Linked DNA regions of Homo sapiens: region 1 is linked to region 2. Evidence: promoter capture Hi-C in human tissues and cell types (Jung and others, 2019). All regions are on one chromosome and are shown on one strand. Each heading gives the region's core, a stretch centred on a gene start or on the middle of the fragment in contact. The rest is flanking DNA. Distances are from core to core; before and after follow the strand shown. Region 1 has its middle 47 kb from the start of KLHDC7A. Region 2 holds the start of KLHDC7A (kelch domain containing 7A).

Region 1 (5,793 bases), core at 1,377-3,876, 48 kb before region 2:
GGTCTGGCCTGAGCCACCGGATGGTGGCGACATTCGCTAAGCCCCAAAGCACAGGAAAGAGACTGGATGAGTGGATGGGGAGATTATGAGGGGTCAACTTAGACACAGTGAGTTCGGTGTGACTTTGAGACATCTAAGTAACCAGTAATTTCTGGAAGAACCTGGGTTCCAAGTAGATGTTGGAGCTGGAAATTTGAACCTCATAGATGTGGGATTAGGTAAGTTAAGACACATAGAGTACTTGGCACAATGCCTGGAACCTAGGAGGCTTCAAAAGAGGGTAGCCCACCCCTTCTTATCTTAAGAGTAAGAACTTCTAGGAGCCCAGGGGAAGGGACATCGCTGGTCGAGAAGGTGGCTTGTCTGGGCCTTGGGGACCATTGCCCATCTGTGTTCAAAGATAAGCAACTGTGCCATCAGGGGTGGGTGAATGGCAGGCCCCCCCACTGATGGTGGAGCCCTAGGAATCTGTTTAATGAATACACTTGTCCTTGCCTTGGCCACCAGGAAGCTCAAACTCAGCAAGCTACCCAACCAAAGCAAACTGTACAGGATATTTTGAAGCTGAATAAAACTCCTTGCATTATTTTATTTCCTACCTTTGCTTTTCTTTGTCCTGACTCTACATCTATTTATTGTAATTGTTACATGTATTTTGAAACTTGCACAAGCCTTTTTTTTAGTGGAATGAGACAGGGTATATATAAACAAATCAACAAAATCAATAGGACAAACATTTGTGGATTGATTTAAAAATAGAATCCTTCTATAATGCACTGGCATTGAAAAAGAGTTTGCTGTTTGGTGACTTTTTTGGTCCATCTTCCTGAAAGGGAAACAGTTGTTCCTTAATTTATCTGCTGGGTGGTTCTGGATTTTGGTTCAGTGCTTAGCAAATTAGCCAGGTGTGGTTTGAGGAGAGATATTAAAAGATCCCATAAAGGGCATACATAAGTTGTGAAAATGCATTATGGATACCAGACCAGGCAGGGGTGAGAGCAGACAGTGAGGAGGGAGTGTGGAAAACTGCCTGGTGGGTTGGATGATCTCCATGTATCTAATTAACTGGGGAAGGTTTTGCAGAAACCGAGGCTGGGTTCAGGCTGGGGCTGGAATCAGGGTTAGGTCTTTGGGGATTGAGTCTATGGGTCTGCTGTCAATCAGCCAGGGGAGTGGAGAGAACTGACCGGCTTTCCCGCATGGTGCATGGTTGGACTGCTGTCAGCCCGCTCCATAGCTGTGTCAGTGAACAAAAGCTGACTGCTGGTCTCTCCAGCCTCACCACTGTTGGCTGCCCTGGGTGGACCTTGCTGCCAGGTGCCCAGGCCTTTGCAGGAGCTGCTGTTCAGCAGGGAACACTCTCCAGCATGGTGTGGAGGTTGAGAGCCCAGAGGCCAGAACCAGATGCTGGCTTCACTGTCTACTATTTCAATGATATTGGACAAGCTCTTTAACCTTTCTGTGCCTCAGTTTCCTATCTCTAAAATGGAGATGATAGGCATACCTACTATATTAGTCCATTTTCACACTGCTGATAAAGACATACCCAAGACTGGGTAATTTATAAAGAAAAAGAAGTTTAACGGACTTACAGTTCCGTGTGGCTGGGGAGGACTCACAATCATGGTGGAAGGAGAAAGACATGTCTTACATGGCAGCAGGTAAGAGAGAGAATGAGAGACAAGTGAAAGGGGTTTCCCCTTACAAAACTGTCAGATCTTGTGAGAGTTAGTCACTGCCGTGAGAACAGTATGGGGGAACTGCCCCCAAGGTTCAATTGTCTCCCACTGGGTTTCTCCCCCAGCACGTTGGAATTATGGGAGCTACAATTCAAGATGAGATTTGGGTGGGGACGCAGCCAAATCCTATCACCTACCTTACTGGGTTGTTTCTGAATCCTGGTGAATTAACTTCAGTGGAGTGTTTAGACAGGCGCCTGCCACAGTAAGTGTTTGCTGTTATTATTATCACCTCTCCCAAATGCTTCACCTGGCTGGGCTCTGTTCATGAGCCAGTGTGCGGTATCTTGCAGTATCTCACTGTAGACTCCCCTAACCATCATTTCTCCAAGGCTGGGTGAGATGTCTTCCTCTAAGCTTCTGCAGGCAGCCTTGCAAACATTGGTCTTTTGTGTTCTTTCCTAGATCTTGAGCCCTTCAGGGGCTGAGGTTGAATCTGGTACAACATCTCTGCCTGTATCTGGTGCCCAGCCTAGAAGCTGGTGTAGATGAGGGGCCAGGAAAGGGATGGAGGATCCTGCAGCATGGCCTGGGAATTCAGGACTTCAACGACAATGAAGAAGAAATACTGCCAAGAGCTGAGGTACCACTGGCATCACTTGGGCCTGTGCCATTCTGCCCACATCCCCTTGGAAGTACAGAATGGAGTACAGAATCCCCCTCCTATCTGGACTAGGCAGGGAGTTGAGGTGTGATGAGGCCTTGCCAGCCGCTCTTCATGGTGGGAATACATTCAAATCCAGCCTCACCTGGATATCCCCCAGGTAAGCAAATGGCATCTGCCAAACAGAGTCCTTGAGCAGGGAAGATGCCTTGTAACCCATCTCAGGGAGGCAGTGTAACGTAATGGTGAGAACACAGGCTCCAGAGTTGGGGCCTGGGGTTCAAATGTATTACCTCCCTGTGCCTCTGTTTCTTCAACTGATAATGGAGTTAATCATCATGCCTATCTCCTAGATTTTTTATTTTTGAGACAGGGTCTTGGTCTGTCACTCACGATGGCATGCAGTGGCATGATCATGCTCACTGCATCCTCAACGTCCCAGACCCAAGTGATCCTCCTGCCTCAACCTCCCAAGTAGCTGGGACTACAGGTCCACACCACCATGCCCAGCTTATTTTATTTTATTTTTTATAAAGAGGAGGTCTCACAATGTTGCCCACATTGGTCTGAAATTCCTGGCCTCAAGCAATCCTCCCGCCCAGGCCTCCCAAAGTCCTGGGATTACAGGCATGAGCCACCACACCTGGCCTCATTCCATGTTTTTCATGGTGGCTTTCCAAAGGAACTGAAGCTCTGCATGATGGTGACTCATCCCTTTGCCCCCACCACCCCCCCCCCCCCCCCCGCCCAGTGGTGAGATAGATCAGACCCGCTTGCTAAGGTGCTGTGTGGGAAAGCTGTTGTAAGTGCGTAGATGCATTGGCCACCCCCTTCTCTGTGTTGTTTTAGTGCCATCTCCACTCCTGTCCCATTACGCTGTGATTTTGTGTTTTGTTGTCTATCTCTTTTGCTGGGTTGTGAGTCCTGAGACTTGGCAGTGTGTTAATTGAGGGTGTGGCCAGTGTGCCATGTGCCACCCCTTCTTAGGTCATTATCATCAGCTCTCATCCATTGAATGACTATGTGTCCCGTGCCTGATGTGTGTTAAGTCTTCATGACCACTCTGCAATGACAAAAGTGAGGCACAGAGAGGTGAAGCGGCTTGCCTGAGGTCACACAGCTTGAAAATGGTGAGATTTGAAGATAATCCGGTCTGATTCTAAAGCTCATGCCCTTTCTACTATGCCATCCTGGTCCAATGCCTGCTGCAGTGTTTGATACGTAGCAGGCACATGGGAATGAATTGATGTGTGTTGAATGCACAGATTTAGTGTGTCAGACACTGAGAACAGAAAGAAGACTAGGACACAGATCAGCGGTTTTACAGTCCAATAGGCTTGAATGTGTTGGCCATCCAGAAGCTTCCAGAATCCTGTGGGACACTTATTTCAGGAGGATGCTGTGGTACACCGTCTTGGTTGCTTGCCCCAAAGCTATCACCATCTTTTCTCTTTGATAGCAGAACTTCCCTGCCTGTCTAGTTCTGGCTAATGGGTGTAAGGGGAAATCAGCTGGGAGAGGGAGCTTCCTCCTTCATAAGAGAGAAACAAGTCAGGGGAAAATCTGCATCTTGTAAGCCCCTATGTGCTGGCTTTAACATGGCCATAGGGAGAATACTATCCCTGAACTGTGACTGCAATCTTGTGATCCTGAGATAAAGGTCAGAGAATTGCAAAGGCCGCCTGTGCCCTGATAATCAGTGAACCACTGACCTAGTCCTAAAACATCTTACCTCCAGACTTCTAAGAAAATACATGACCATGAATGAGAAAAATGCACCTTGGTGGGTTTCGGCCACTGTTACCTGGGGATTATGTTAGTTGCAGCTGAAAGCATTCCCAACAGATACAGAAGCTGATTGCAAGTGGGAAGAGCAAGGAACCTGGCATCAGAAGACCTGGCTGGGACACTCATCTCTGTCGTGAACCAGCAGGACCCTTTCTGGACTAGTCACTAACTGATGTGCAGCTCAGTTTCCTGATATGTGAGATAGGGCTTCCTCTGTGGCTGAAGTGAGATGTAGGGGGCATTTCTAACCCCAGGATCCCCTTGCTCAACACAAGAGAAGTCTCTTTGATTATTCTCTGATAAGCACTTAGTGTGGACAGAGAATCCTCTCCAACATGTAAGGTGAATCATGTAGAGGGGTTCTTAAAAAGTAAAAGGCCCCATGAGAGCCACAGCTGGTGCCTTCCTCCTGGGGCAGAGCTGGGTGGGGGAGTCTAGTCATGAAGGCCACAGGTAGCATGGCTGCACTGGAGCTCGGAGGAGCCAAGGGCTTGGGCGGAAAGTCAAGTTAGGAGACATGTAAGAAACAGTGGCTAATGCTAAATGACGAGTTAATGGGTGCAGCACACCAGCATGGCACATGTATACATATGTAACTAACCTGCACATTGTGCACATGTACCCTAAAACTTAAAGTATAATAATAATAAAATAAAAAAAACAGATTGAAAAAAAGAAACAGTGGAAAAGTAAGGATTTGGAGGACAGGCAGGAAGGTCAAAAGCAGAAAAGCAAAAAGTTGGAAATGGGTAAAGGCAGTGGTTCTCAAAGTGTGGTCCCCAAGGTGCTGTATCAGCATCAACTGGGAACATGCTAGGAATGCAGGTCCTTGGGACACCCAGACCTGCTGGACCAGAAACCCTGAGGCTGGGGCCCTGCAGTCAGCATTTTAACAGGCTTTCCGGGTGATTCTGATGCACACTAAAGTTTGGGAACAACTGGGATTGTTCAAACTTGGTCTGGGAACAATAGGTAGGTACCCAAGAGTCCCCTTGGCAAAGTGCCTGACCTCTGCTGGGGAAATGCAAGGAAGAGATTTCAGGGATCTATATCAAGACATTTGTGGAAAGTATTAATAAGTTCATTTGTAGAATGAGGGCACAGAAAGCTTCACATTCCTGCTTTCTTTTTGCTTTGCAGGGAGCTGAGCCTTAGGTTTTGTGACAGAATTTGAGGCAGTGAATGCTGACCCAGCTTTGTAAGAAAGAATAGGAGAAAGGTATGTGTGTGTGTGTGTGTGTGTGTGTGTGTGTGTGTGTGTGTGTGTGTAGGTAGCTGGAGGGACCTGCTGACATCCTGCCACAGCTTGAGGCAGCCCTTAATTGGGACCCATTTCTCTTTCTCCCAAGCTGCTGGCTCAGCTCATGGAGAAGCAACACGCTGACCATAGCTAGAAGTCTGGGCAACGTTGTGGCCTGCTCCTGTTGTTGTGTGGGCTCTGCATGGGGCATCGATGCCAGGTGAGCAGCTTGCCCACTGAAGGATGAAGCTGAAGGAGCATCTTAGCTGAGGGCCAGGTCCCTGACCCTGTTCTGGAACTCCAGAATGCCAGTGTCTCCGCTATGGCATGAGAGGCTCATTTAGCAGTGATGTGCTTGAACGAGCAAGCTCTTAAATACTGGCTGCTCTGGATGCTTGGTTTCCCAGGTGGGTCTGTCCCAT
Region 2 (6,684 bases), core at 3,526-6,025:
GGTCTTGAGCTACCTTGTTCCACCCTGATGGCCCTGACCACATTCTTCCTGAAGCCCAGCTCTAGAGCCCCAGGCCAGCACATCAGCTCTAATCTATAGGTAGTGACTGCCTGGGACACTGTATTGAAACACTTATGAAGCCATTGTGAGCGCTCGCCAGGAAAAGATAGGACGACTGATGAATGATTTTGCCAATGGAACCATAAGAGAGGTGGATCAGATGGACTGTGTACTCCTCTTCCCAGCCCAGGCCCAAATCTCAGCTCCACCTCTCATTATGAAGACCACACCCACCATCAGCTGGGGCCTGGAACACATTTGTCCGTCTTATCCCTGGAATCACTCCCCTAGTCTCTACCACAGGTATGCAATGGGCTTTGGAATGTTTTTCCAGAGTGGTCCTTGTTCCTCCTGGGCTTGGAAACTTTCCAGAACTTTACCTAGCTTAGTTGTTGCCTTGTCCTCTGCCTGGCCCCTCACTAGGGGTTGAAGGTTGGATCTAGGTCCACCTGCCCCCAGCTCCTATGTAGAGTTCTCCTCCCAAGCAAGTCCTTCCCCCAGTCCAGCAGCACAATGCTAGTGCCTCCTTTGAGTCTTGTCACTGAAGCCATTCTGCCCCAGCCCACAGGTCCCTTGGAGGTTCATGCCTAGTGTTGACACTGAGCTTGAATGTGGCCTTGGCTGGGTTCAGGGGTCACTCTCCCAAGAAGGTAGCCATGGCCCCAGCTGACTTTCCCTTCCTGGTCTCTGATTTAAGAATAAATTCAGTTGCTTCATCTTTCGAGGCCCAGGCCAGGGAAGTGGGGTGGGGGTGTGGCCAATGTCACCCTGTGGCCTCTGAGCTGCCACTGGCAGAGCCTGGTGCCAGAGCCCAGACCAGGGATGGTGGTCTTCGGTGGTCCAGTGCAAGCTCTCCTCTTATGTCCATGCCAACCTCCTTTTCATCCTTTGTTCCAGTCCTGCTTCTTCCAACAAGACCCACAGCCTGGGCACCAGCAGCTTCCGTGGACACAGGATCTAGCTGGGACCACCTGGGAAACTGGGAAGAACTTTCTCTTTTATCCTCTCATTTATCCCCAGGGCAGACAGGGACATGAATTGTCCTTCCCATTTTCAAGACAAGGACACTGAGGTCCAAAGCATCCTTATTTTCTTCCTTGTCAGGCCCTGCTCTGGTGTACCTCCCATCTCCCCTGGCTTCTGGCTGGGACCAAGAGCATCACTGCCTTCCCATCTGTCACTGTCTCCCTCAGAGGTGGAACAAGGGCTGTGGTAATACACTGGGTCAGGCTCTCTCCCGTCCCTCCTGGAAGGACAGGTGCTTTCCTGAGGCTGGGGGTCTCCTTCATTCGGAGTTTATCAAACCAGATGTGAAAGGAGATCCAGTCTCTGGATGCTTCACTAGACTCTTCTAGTTCCTCCGCTTGGTCATCCACCTGAAAATGTGAATGCGGCAAACCAGGTGACCGTACCTGGCACAAGGAGGGCAAATTATGCTGTCACCCTGAAGTGCTGACTGGTGGTGGTTGCCCCAGCTTCCAGACAGGAAGACGGCTACAGATCTGAGAATGAGTGCAATGGTCAGTTAACATGGGCAGGGCCGAGGAGCAGGGTGGCCCTTGGATCACATAGTTTCTTCCCTTTGCTGAGACCTCCGTGTATCCTTAGCAGACCTCCACCAGAAGATAGCTTGGTACAATGGCTGCTTCTCTTTCTTCCAATAAGGAGAAAAGTAATGTGGGCTTTGGTATATTTTCTCGCAAGCAAGAGTCTCCTAGGCTGGCCCCAGCTTCAGCTGTTCTACTTTTCAAACCACCACTCCCTCTGGCCAGGGCCCCTGGGGCTCCCTCGGCTCCTTCCTGGCCCTGCCCAAGTCACCTGCCTCCATCTTTCCCACCTGTGTGTCCCGGTGCTTCTGGGAACTGTGGAGGTGGGGCCCAGTGGCTGATGTTTAGGAAGGGGCACTGATGGCTCAGAGAGCCAACCCCTCTCCAGAGCAACTAGCGAGGGGCTGCTGGGGTCAACTGGCTCCTAGAATTGTGATTGCAAAAAGACTATGCCCCCTAAGCTTTGGTGGGGTCCCGGTGTATCCCCCCAAGAATTCAGAGTTGAAGCAAGGGCGGTCATCCCTGAAGACATGAATGCCTTCTGCCTTGGAACACCAGCTCCTGGTCCTCTTTTCTGCAGTGGGGCCTCTGCAGCCCATGAAGGGTAAGACTCATCTAAGATCCCTCTCTCCCCAGCTAGGGGAGGAGAAAGGACCGGAATTCACCTCTTGATGGCCACATTCCTGGGTTGCCTGTTTGCCTAGAAATGGCCCCCAGAGGGACGGCTGGCAGTGGAGCCCGGTGGCCCCCAGCTTTGCATGAGGAGCTCAGTTGAGGGACTGCTAGACCCTGGTCTGAGGCAAATCGGGGGTGGGCAAGGTCAGGACGGTGGGCAGGAGGGTGCCCTGCGGGGCCGGGAAACTCCGCAGCTCCTTGGGCACAAACCTGGGTGAGACAGAGTCTGCTAGGAAGCAGAGGGTGCTCCGGCGTCCCACGCAGTAGATGAGGTTGTCCACCACGGCGCACTGGAAGGCATCCGGGTAAGGCGTCCGGTACGTGGCGCACTCGTACCAGAGCCGGGTGCTGGCGCTGCAGCGGTACACGGCGATGCCCAGGCTGCGGTTGAGGTCAAAGCGGTAGAGAAAGCCGTTGACCGCCACCATCTCGGCCGTGCGGTCCTTGCTGCCCCCGGTGGGGCCGGCCCACCAGCGCTGCTCCTGCGCAGAGAAGCGGAACAGCAGGAAGCGCAGCGAGCCGCCGGTGACGAAGATTTCCTTGGCACGCACCGTGGCCGTGTGCGCCAGGGCGAACGTGTCACTGGGGAGCGGCGGGGCAAAGTCCCAGCGGTCCAGGCGGGGGTCGTAACGCTCCACCGAGTTCAGACACTCTCCGCCGATGGCATACAGGTGCCCGTCCAGGGCCACCAGCCGGCAGTGCGGCCGGGCCTGGTTCAGCGGGCACACCTCGCTCCAGATCCCCGTGAGCGGGTTGTAGCAGAAGACGCGGCTGGAGGGCTGGTGCCCGGGCCCCTGGCAGCCGGACACCACGAAGAGATAATTGAAGAGACTGCAGATGGCACAGCCCCGGGACACGGCCTCGGGGGGCATGCGAGCCAGCGGGCGCCAGACATCCTGCTCATCGTCATAGCAACAGAGGCCGCCGGAGTCTTCCTTGGGGCACACGTCAGCCACCACCAGGTACTGGCGGCCCCGGAGCCGGCGCTGCAGGATCAGCTCGCGCTCTGCCCCGCTCAGGCACCCGTAGATGTCCGGGCTGCGCAGCACCTGCAGGTAGTTTTCGCTCATCACCTTGTAGGCCGCCTCTTTCAGGGCCTCCAGGTTCTGCCTCTTGGCCAAGGTCAGCACCTCATAGCAATTGCCCAGATCCAGGCGGACCTGTGGGGCTGAAGCAGGGGTGAGCGGGATATGGAAGAAATTGGTCCCGGCCACCGGCTGCACATGGGGCTCCCGGCTGCTTCTGCCTAAGCCAGGCAGGGCGCCCGGGTCTGGGCAGGGTGGAGCGGGGAGCCGGAAGCCATCTGGCTGCAGCTGCAGCTCTGGGTTCTCCGCTATCTGCAGAAGGCTCTCCTTCCGGCTGAAGCCTCGGGTGGAGGGCCACGGCCCTGTCTGCGGGGAGGCGGCTCTTTCGGCTGCACCCTTTGTGTCACCGGCTTGGCCTCCCGAGGCAGCCCCTGTTCCCAGGGACCCTGGCGGTGGCCTAGGGGATGGAACCTCAGTCAGGGCTGCTGTCCTGGGAGCCAGCCTGCCCTGGAAGATGGCCTGAGAGGTAGATTCCACATAGTAGTCGTACACCTTGCCCTTGAGCCGGGGCTCAACCCCCTCCGCCTTCTGTATGAAATGCTCCTCCATTCGGACGCGGGCTATGGATGAGAAGGTATAGGAGGAGTTGGGGGCGCCCTCCTGCTGATGCAGGGTCAGGTCAACATCGGAGGCAGCCTCGAGAGCCCCAGCCTCTTCTCTGCTGACCCCTATCACACGGGTGAAGACCCAGCTCTGGTTCATGTCACTGCTGCCTTGCAAGGGAGCCACGTAGTGACAGTGGGGAGGTTCTAGTTGCCCCAGTCCTGGATGCTCACGGGGTTTACTGTCCTGCCATGGAGAAGGCTCACCACCGGCACAGCTGCCGTCGGCTGCTGCAATGAGTCCAGCTGGGGAGCTCTTCGGTTCGCTGCCCAAGCGGGGGAAATGGGGAGGGTCAGGGTTACTGCCAACAGCTGTTCTGGTTTCCTGGCTGGGGCAGCAAGGAGGCACCTGCTCAGAGTCCGAGCCCTGCCCGCCCCGCTCCTCACCTGAGCCTTTTCTCTGGGGCTTCCTGTCTGTGGAAGTGGCCCCCGTGACCAGGACATAGGGGCCTCTTGGATTCTCACAGCTGCAGCCCTGTGGTGCTTCAGCCCGCTTGCTGCTCCTCCGACGTCTTGGCCCCCTCAGGAGCACCCCAGGAGAAGCCTCCTGTACAGCAGGCTGCCCTGAGCCCTCTGCTTCCTCCTTGGCTTCTGCCTGGCCATTCCCACCCCACCGCTGGGCTGGGGCAGGCCTCGACTTGTACAGCCTGTAGGCCACAGTCACCAGGAGCAGGGCAGCGGCTGACAGCACCACCTTGCCGGTCAGCTGCATATCCAAATGCCAGTCCTGGGCCTCTGCTCCTCTGGGGAACATGCTTCTCCAGCCAACCTGGGGCTGAGGAATGTCAAGAATCTGATTAATAATTGCCCAGTAGGGACCAGTTCCTGGGTCCTGCTGAGCGGAGGGGAGGGAGTTCTGGGCTGGTTCTGGCTGGCCAGCCGAGGAGAGGAGAGGAGCAAAGGTGACTTTGAGCTGCAGAGGGTGGCCGCTGGGGCCCAGAGCTGGCAGATCCCAGCGGCTGGCCTCCTTCCATGCTTCCCTGGTGGCTGGGGTGGGGGGCCCGCCCAGGGGCTGAGCTTGTGATCAGCCACCTAAGCCAGCTCTGTGGTCAGCAGCTAGGGGATGTTAGGAGTATCCAGTGGGCATACAAAAGAGGAGGAAGCTCTTAACCAAACAGTCACCCGATGCCAGGAAATGCATGGGGTTGGTTATTCTTTATGTGTGTGCTTTATTTTCTCTTTTGCAAGTCCACTGGGCTCAGAGGCTTGGGTGTGGTGAGTCATGGGCAGGTGGAGCCCCAGTAGGCGTGGATGGGGTCATTCTTGTGAGGTCTGCTGGTCCTCACAGTGGGGTCAACTTTATGCTGGCCAAGCAGGGAACGGGAACATGGCAGTGGAGTCTGGAGCCAGGGCATGCAGCCAAGCCACCTGAGCCGGCCCTTGAGTGCCTCTGCCCTCCTTCCCTGCCTGACAAGTTTATTAAGAAAAACCAGCCTTTCTGAGAACAGTGGAGAAAGACATTGCATTAGTGCTCAGATCGGGGTTAGATGTGGACACATCTTCTCTTTTAAAACCAGACAATCTCCTACGGTGAAAGATTGAGGGAAGACTCACGTCTCCCAGACCCCCCCTCACCATTTCCCCTCCCCCATCACCAGTGCTGTGGGTCCTGGACCCAGACTACCTGGCTCTGCTACTTACCAACTATATGACCTTAGGCAAGAGACCTCACCGCTCTGTGCTTTGTCTGAAAAAGGAGGATGACAGCATACGCACCTCATCAGCTTGTGGGGAGAACTAAATGGGCTACTAGGAATAAACACTGGGGCAGAGCCCCCATCATGAAAGCTTAGTAAATATGAACTATTCTCTGCTTCTTCCTCCTTTTCCTCTTTCTGATCATCGGCACCATCATCGCTAGTATCAATTGTCATCAGAGGACCTTCCAAAGCACAGAACTAATTCTACCCTTCTCCTGACCAAGGTCCTCAAAGAGTCCCCAAAGTCCTGTGCAGGGGTCTCAAACTCTTGCTGCATATGGAGGCTGGGTAGGTAAAGTGAACAAGTAAGGACGTCTGTCCGCCCCACCCCAGCCGATGGTATCAGGCCCAGCATTGCCTCATCCTCCCACTGTCGCAAAAAGCTTAGAATCCCAGTAGTGACATAATCACTCTCAATTTTAAAATGTTGGCATCTGATTCAAAAATGAAACTGAAAAACACTGTGGGCCACAGGAAGCACACGCATGGGAGGAATTTGGCTCTGAAGGCTTTGACTCTAGGAGACAATCCTGACTCCCTATGCCGACGTTCACAACTCTCTGTGTACCAGCTTCGGTTTACTCTTCCAGATGCATCTCCTGATCACTGCCTAGCAAACCGGGCTCAGGGTGACTTCTTGGCAGGGAAGGCTGGTGGACATCCCTCTGGCCCATCAGAGTTGGGTAAAAGGCTGTGTCTGGGCCTTCTTCCCTGGTGCCTTCATCCGTCCAAGATCACCTTTTCTTCCTTTGGGTCTCGTGTTCTCTGATGCTCCTCTTTTAGGCTTGGCCACAGCTGCTGCATCGTAAAGTGCATTGTGTGCAAGATCTGGTCTGCTGCATTCTAAGTCCTTGAGGACAGAGGCTGTAGCTGGCTCAGCTGTGGACCCTAAGCCTATGTGGGGCCCTGCACCATTTGGGACAATAGCCAGCAGGGATTGTCTTTACACTGAGTGGATTGGGGTGAACACTCGGGATGAAGCTCATCTCATCTCGTCTCATGCTCACAGCCCCTT

What was found. Contacts are between HindIII fragments. The study calls those that stand out against the background at their distance.
Region 1: a contact is called between a fragment that was not itself captured here and the fragment with the promoter of KLHDC7A in region 2, in 1 of the 25 tissues and cell types used here (pancreas).

What each region holds. Positions count from the first base shown.
Region 1 is chr1:18,525,350-18,531,142 of GRCh38, reverse strand. No RefSeq gene overlaps it. Among named protein-coding and RNA genes, the nearest start is that of KLHDC7A, 47 kb to the right of the region's middle. The HindIII fragment of the contact is 3,693 bases long and covers 780-4,472 here.
Region 2 is chr1:18,479,021-18,485,704 of GRCh38, reverse strand. It overlaps KLHDC7A (kelch domain containing 7A), which reads right to left and starts at 4,775. Exons shown (of 1, transcript NM_152375.3): 1 at 1-4,775. The coding sequence starts at 4,723. The coding sequence ends at 2,390. RefSeq lists enhancers at 3,953-4,824, 4,825-5,697. The HindIII fragment of the contact is 16,937 bases long and covers 1-6,684 here.